2 separate regions of the Homo sapiens genome follow, and region 1 is linked to region 2. The links are contacts of gene promoters, found by promoter capture Hi-C in blood cells and fetal thymus (Javierre and others, 2016). All regions are on one chromosome and are shown on one strand. Each heading gives the region's core, a stretch centred on a gene start or on the middle of the fragment in contact. The rest is flanking DNA. Distances are from core to core; before and after follow the strand shown.

Region 1 (3,411 bases), core at 661-3,160, 130 kb after region 2:
AGAGAAGGTACCAAGAAGTAAAGATCTAAGGAGGTGAGGGATGGGGCCATGCCACTGTCTGCAGTGGGAATGTCCCAGGCAGTGGAAACAGGATGTGCCAAGCCCCTGGGTAACATGGAGGAGGCCAGTGTGGCTGTAGTGGAGTGAGGGAGAGGAAGAGAGGGAGGGAAAGTTAGGGAAGTGACAGGGAGCATGTGGGGCTTAGAGGCCACTGTAAGGATTTCTTTTTGTTTTGTTTTGTTTGTTTGTTTGTTTGTTTGTTTGTTTTGAGACAGATTCTCGCTCTGCTGCCCAGGCTGAAGTGCAGTGGTGCAGTCATGGCTCACTGCAGCCTTGAACTCCTGGCCTCAAGTGATCCTCCCACCTCAGCCTCCTAAGTGGCTGGAACCACAGGCATGTGCTACCACACCTGACTATTTTTAAAATTTTTTAGAGATGGGGTCTCCCTGTGTTGCCCAGGCTGGTCTCCAACTCCTGCTCTCAAGTGAATCTCTAGCCTCAGCCTCCCAAAGCACTGGGATTACAGGTATGAGCCACTGCACCCAACCACTAGGTGTTATTATTTCCTGCAGAGGCCAGCTGGCCCGGGCCTACCTCTGACTGGTGGCCTCATAGTCAGGCTGAGTGGGGTCTTCCATCCCATGGAGCTGGGCCACCGCTCTCTCCTTGTCCAGATATGCACCTCGTACCAGCTTCACTCCGAAGGCCAGGCCGGCCCTGTGCGCAGCCTCTGCATCCCTCCCCAGCCGCTCGAATGTGTCCTATAGGGCACGCAGGCAGGTTCTGGTAGGTCAGGGTGTGGGGACCCCAGCCTGTACCTCCTGGAACACACTGCACACCTTTAGACAGGCCTGGTAGGTGTTCCACACCCAGGGCCCGCCTTCACCCGGGCTGTTCCAGCGCACAGCCAGGGCAGCCACCAGCAGCGAGAGCGCAGGGTTCAGTGAGGTGTACTCCGCATCCACCAGGAGCCGCACGTGCTGGGCCCGGGCATACTGATGGCGACAGAGACGACGGTCAGGGCCCCGGGTGTCCAGCAGGGGCAGTGGAGCCAGATCCCAGCAGGAGGGGTTACCTGTGCCACCCGATGCAGGCGGCTGAGGGAGGCCCGGAGGTGCTGGTTCCAGCAGGAGGGGTTACCTGTGCCACCCAATGCAGGCGGCAGAGGGAGGCCCGGAGGTGCTGGTTCCAGCAGGAGGGGTTACCTGTGCCACCCGATGCAGGCGGCTGAGGGAGGCCCGGAGGTGCTGGTTCTGCTCAGCATTGAGGCAGGAGACCTGGAGGTTCTAGGGGGCAGCAGGGGAAGTGGGGAAAAGCTTATAAGTTGCTAGAAATCTAAAAATGAGCAATATCAGTTAGGTACTATTTATTGAGGGGGTTATGAGCCTAGAATCAGGGCTCGAATCCAGGCTTCACCACCTACTGTGTGACCTTGGGCAAGTTATGTAACCTTTCTGGGCCTCAGTTTTTGTTTGTTTGTTTTTTGAAACAGAGTCTTGCTCTGTTGCCCAGGCTGGAGTGCAGTGGCATGATCTCAGCTCACTGCAACCTCTGCCTCCTGGGTTCAAGTGATTCTCCTGCTTCAGCCTCCCGAGTAGCTGGGATTACAGGCGCCCGCCACCATGCCCGGCTAATATTTGTACTTTTAGTAGAGACAGGGTTTAACCATGTTGGCCAGGCTGGTCTCGAACTCCTGACCTCAAGTGATCTGCCCACATCGGCCTCCCAAAGTGCTGGGATTACAGGTGTGAGCCACCGTGCTCAGCCCTCCCTGCTACTCTTTGAACACGAGGGCACCTTCCCACCTCCAGCCCTTTACCTGCTCCCATGTTTCCTTCAAGTATTTGCTCTAATGTCACTTTCTCAACATGGTTTTCCCACCTATACATTGGCAACTTCTTTTCCTCTTCCTCAGCCTTATTTTCCCTTACTTGTTACGTACTGACTTTTGTTTTGCTGAGACGGGGTCTTGCTGTGTTGCCCAGGCTGGAATGCAGTGGCACGATCATGGCTCACTGCAGCCTCCACCTCCCCAGCTCAAGCAATCCTCCTGCTTCAGCCTTCCAAGTACCTAGTACCACAGGCACCCACCACCATGCCGGGCTAATTCTTTACTATTTGTAGAGTCAAGGTCTTCCTATGTTGCCCAGGCTGGTCTCAGTCTCCTGGACTCAAGCGATCCTCCCACCTCAGCCTTCCAAAGTGCTGGGATTCTGACTTTGGTTTTAATTATTGTCTCTTGCCCCTGACTTGCAAGTAAGTGCCTCGAGGTCAGGGATTTTGCCTTCATGCTTCCTCGGCCCCTAGCACCGTGTCTGGAACAAGATAGATGTTCAGCAAACACTTCGGGAGTGGATATGCTTGTAACATGGAAATAAGAACCGTTTCTAACTCACAGTCTTATGCAGATTCATCTGGCTGAATGTGAGCTGCTGGTGACTCCAGGGAGTCTGGCTGGGTTCAAAGAAGTTGGGAAATGGAAGAAAGAGGAACAGGTGGGGCTGAAAGCTTTATTATATCCAACAGGGTCGATACAGATGACATAGGCCTGGGCTTGCTCATGGAATCCCACCTGGAGGCAGGTTGGGCTGGAAGCTGCAACCTTCCGCATGGTGGGGAGAATGCTGCCTCCTGGAGAAGGGAAGACCTGGAGGCAGCAGCCTGGTTTCCTCCTCCCCTGTCAGAGGATTGTCTCCTGCTTGACTTGGGGCGTAGTCTTAGGCCCTCAGGGAGCTATTTCAGACACCCACCAAATATTTAACTCATTTAATATTTACCACTCTCTAATGTACCAACTGTTATTATCCCCCCATTTTCTAGATGGGGAAACTGAGGCACAGAGCAGGGAAGTCACTTGTCAAAAGTCACACAGCTAACTCAGGGCAGACCTGAGGTTTAAACCTCAGCCTTTCCAGAGCCTGGGTCTTTCTCTCTTTTCTCCCTCCCTCCCTCCTTCCCTCCCTTCCTTCCTTCCTTCTTTTTTTTTTTTTTTTGAGATAGATCTCACTCTGTCTCCCAGGCAAGAGTGCAGTGGTGCAAGTTCAAGTGATTCCCCTGCCTCAGCCTCCTGATTAACTGGGGCTACAGGCACGTGCCACCACTTCTGGATAAGTTTTATATTTTTAGTAGAGATGGGGTTTCACCATGTTGCCCAGGCTGGTCTCAAACTCCTGACCTCAAGTGATCCAGCCCCACTTAGCCTCCCAAAGTGCTGGGATTACAGGTGTGAGCTACAGCACCTGGCCCTTTTTTCTTTCTTTCTTTATTTCTTTCTTCCTTCCTTCCTTCCTTCCTTTCCTTCCTTCCTTCCTTCCTCCCTCCCTCTCTTTCTTTCTTCGCTCTCAAACTTGCCAGCTCAAGCAATCCTCCCACCTTAGCCTCCCAAGTAGCCAGGATTACAGGTGCCTGCCA
Region 2 (3,672 bases), core at 580-3,079:
TTTTTTTTTTTTTTGAGACGGAGTCTTGCTCAGTTGCCCAGGCTGGAGTGCAGTGGTGCGATCTCGGCTCACTGCAAGCTCCGCCTCCCGGGTTCACGCCATTCTCCTGCCTCAGCCTCCCGAGTAGCTGGGACTACAGGCACCTGCCACCACGCCTGGTTAATTTTTTTTTTTGTATTTTTAGTAGAGATGGGGTTTCGCCGTGTTAGCCAGGATGGTCTCGATCTCCTGACCTCGTGATCCGCCCACCTCGGCTTCCCAAAGTGCTGAGATTACAGGCATGAGCCACCGTGCCCGGCCCCCAAATTTCTTACAGGAAATTTCTAAAGTAGACTAGAGTCCGCAGTATTTGAGCCCTGCATACCTCTCACCTGATTTCAACAACATCAGCTGCAGACTGCCCGACATTGTCTCCTCTATCCCCCTTCTCTCATACTTTTTCTTCTGGGTATTTTGAAGCACATTCTAGATGCCAAGTCACTTGCCTGTAAATACTGGAGCACACATTTCTCTGAGTGATAAGCACATTGTTTTAAAGCAGTCAGGAGGTTGTGCAATGTCATCCATCTCCCAGCAGCAGAGTTCACACATCCACACGCAACCTCCTGCTGCTTTATAGATGAAGGTGCCAGGTGAGGACATGAAAAGAATTTGCATTAAACATCAACTGACAAGCTTTTTTTTTTCTCCTGCCCTCTGTGCCGTTGGCACAACCCACCAAATTCAATCAAGTTCTTCTATATCTTCCAATACCCAGTCTGTGTCAAATGTCTCTGATTATCTGAGAACATCGTTTTATGTTGTTTGTTTTATTTTAAGAGACAGGGTCTCACTCTGTTGCCCAGGCTGGAGTGTAATGGCACAATCTCGGCTCATTGCAACCTCTGCCTCCTGGGTTCAAGCTATTCTCCTATCTCATCCTCCTGAGTAGCTGGGATTACAGGCACCCATCACCATGCCCAGCTAATTTTTGTATTTTTGCATTTTTAGTAGATGGGGTTTCACCATATTGGTCAGGCTGGTCTTGAACTCCTGACCTCAGGTGATCCACCCGTCTCAACCTCCCAAAGTGTTGGGATTACAGGCGTAAGCCACTGCACCCACCCTTGTTTGTTTTGTTTTAAGAGACAGGGTTTTGCTCTGTTGCCCAGGCAGGAATGCAGTGGTGCGATCATAGCTCGCTGAGGCCTCCAACTACTGGGCTCAAACGATCCTCCAACCTCAGCCTCCCAAATAGCTAGGACTAACACTACCACTAGTAGTAACTATGCTTAACTAATTTTTTTATTTTTATTTTTTGTAGCGACGGGGTCTCACTGTGTTGCCCAGGCTGATCTTGAACTCCAGGGTTCAAGCAATCTTCCCATCTCAGCCTCCCAAAGTGCTGGGATTACAGGTGTGAGCCACCAATGCCCAGCCCTAATTTTTGTATTTTTAGTAGAGAAGGGGTTTCACCATGTTGGCCAGGCTGGTCTCGAACTCCTGACTCAGGTGATCGCCCCCTCGGCCTCCCAAAGTGCTGGGATTATAGGCGTGAGCCACCACGCCTCGCCTGTCTCAAAAATAAATTAATTAAATTAAATATTTCAAAATACAGAAAAGTTGGAAGACAATACAGCGAACACCTGAACACCCACCACATATTATAGATGCTGCTAGTCACACTGCCCCAAACTTTTTTAAAACTTGCATTTCCCCAGTGATGCTTCCCTGACGGGGTGTGGCTTCACGGGCTCTGCCCGACGGGCCGTCCTCCCTCTGTCTCCCCAGTACCTGGTGCTCATGCTCATCGTCTACATCTTCGAGTGCGCCTCCTGCATCACGTCCTACACCCACCGTGACTACGTGAGCCCGGCGAGGCCTGGGGAGGGGCCTGACCTGCATGGGAGGGGCGAGGGTCCCGGCGCGGCGGGGCGGAGGTCGTCCTCTCTCCCCACCCAGCCCTGCCGGCCCTTGTTCTTCCCTGTTCTCCTCAGATGGTGTCCAACCCATCCCTGATCACCAAGCAGATGCTGACCTTCTACAGCGCGGACACCGACCAGGGCCAGGAGCTGACCCGCCTCTGGGACCGCGTCATGATTGAGGTGGGCGGGGTGGACCGGGTGCTGGGAGGGCCCTGGGCTCCGTCCACAGAGGCCGATAGAGCTCCCGATGTGCCAGCTTTTAGAGGAGTGAGTGCCTTAAAGACATCCGCTCATGAGATCTCTAGGAGAGCAGGGCTGCGGTCATCACCGTTCTGCGGATGAGTAAACAGGCCCAGAAAGGGAAAGTCCCTTGCCCGAGGCCACACAGTCGGTAAGTGGTGGGAGCTGGGATTGGAACCCGGCAGCCTAGCTCCTGACCTCCCTGCTCTTAGCCTACACATACTACCTCAACAGAAATGTTGATAATAACAATGATAGTAACAGCACCATTCACTGAGCTAGGTTTCACACTGTTCAAAGGACTTTTATTTTTATATTTTGAGATGGGGTCTTGCTCTGTTGCCCAGGCTGGAGTGATCATAGCTCACTGCAACCTCCAACTCCTGGGCTCAAGTGATCCTCCCGCCTCAGCTTCCCGAGTAGCTGGGAATACAGGTGCGCCCCACCACACCCGGCTAAGTTTTTTAAATTATCTTTTGTGGAGATGGGGGTCTTGCTCTATTGCCCAGGCTGGTCTGGAACTCCTGGGCTCAGGATTGGAGCGATTCTCCCACCTCCGCCTCTCAAAGTGCCGAGATCACAGGCATGAGCCACGAGTGCCTGGCCTCAAAGCACATTTTTTTTTTTCTTTTTATCTTTTTTTTTTTTTTTTTTTTTTTGAGACAGAGTCTTGCTCTGTCGCCCAGGCTGGAATGCAGTGGCGCGATCTCGGCTCACTGCAAGCTCCGCCTCCCGGGTTCACGCTATTCTCCTGCCTCAGCCTCCCGAATAGCTGGGACTACAGGCGCCTGCCACCGCGCCCAGCTGATTTTTTGTATTTTTAGTAGAGATGGGTGTTAGCCAGGATGGTCTTGATCTCCTGACCTTGTGATCCACCTGCCTCGGCCTCCCAAAGTGCTGGGATTACAGGCTTGAGCCACCGTGCCCAGCCTTTCAAAGCACTTTTAAAGCTTTTTTAATCCTCACGACCACTCCATAAGGGAGATCGGCCTTTTAGTGATGAGGAGACCAAAGCAAGAGGTTGAATATCTTGCATGAGGTCACACACCTGGTAGGTCACAGAACTGGAAGGATTCAAACTCAGACTTCCAGGTTTGAAGAGATACAGTCTTCCTCAAATCCAACATGATATTGCACTGGAAAAGGAAGAAATTGGCTGGGTGCAGTGGCTCAAACCTATAATCCCAACACTTTGGGAGGCAAAGGCGGGCAGATCACTTGAGTTCAGGGGTTCAAGACCATCCTGGCCAACATGGTGAAACCCTGTCTCTACAAAAAATACAAAAATTAGTCAGGTGTAGTAGTGTGCGCCTGTGATTCCAGCTACTTGGGAGGCTGAGGCAGGAGAATCACTTGAACCCAGGAGGGGGAGGTTGCAGTGAGCCAAGATGGCGCCACTGTACTCCAGCCTGGACAACAGAGGGAGACTCCGTCTCAAAAAAAAAAAAAAAAAAGAAGAAGAAATTGAGGACTCAAGGAAAACTGAGGCGTCAATGTGGCCCAAGTCCTCTAGCTAGCCAGGATTTGA

Evidence for each region. Contacts are between HindIII fragments. The CHiCAGO score rates a contact against its expected background, and 5 or more counts as called.
Region 1: a fragment that was not itself captured here is called in contact with the fragment with the promoter of UPK1A-AS1 in region 2 in 1 of 17 cell types (M2 macrophages); the score reaches 5.8 in M2 macrophages.

What each region holds. Positions count from the first base shown.
Region 1 is chr19:35,805,836-35,809,246 of GRCh38, forward strand. It overlaps PRODH2 (proline dehydrogenase 2), which reads right to left. Exons shown (of 10, transcript NM_021232.2): 5 at 1,206-1,286; 6 at 840-995; 7 at 595-761. Among named protein-coding and RNA genes, the nearest start is that of PRODH2, 5.3 kb to the right of the region's middle. RefSeq lists an enhancer at 1,098-1,598. The HindIII fragment of the contact is 1,192 bases long and covers 1,315-2,506 here.
Region 2 is chr19:35,671,462-35,675,133 of GRCh38, forward strand. UPK1A-AS1 (UPK1A antisense RNA 1) reads right to left here and starts at 1,830. Exons shown (of 2, transcript NR_046420.1): 1 at 1,774-1,830. It overlaps UPK1A (uroplakin 1A), which reads left to right. Exons shown (of 8, transcript NM_007000.4): 4 at 1,771-1,845; 5 at 1,977-2,084. The HindIII fragment of the contact is 2,419 bases long and covers 674-3,092 here.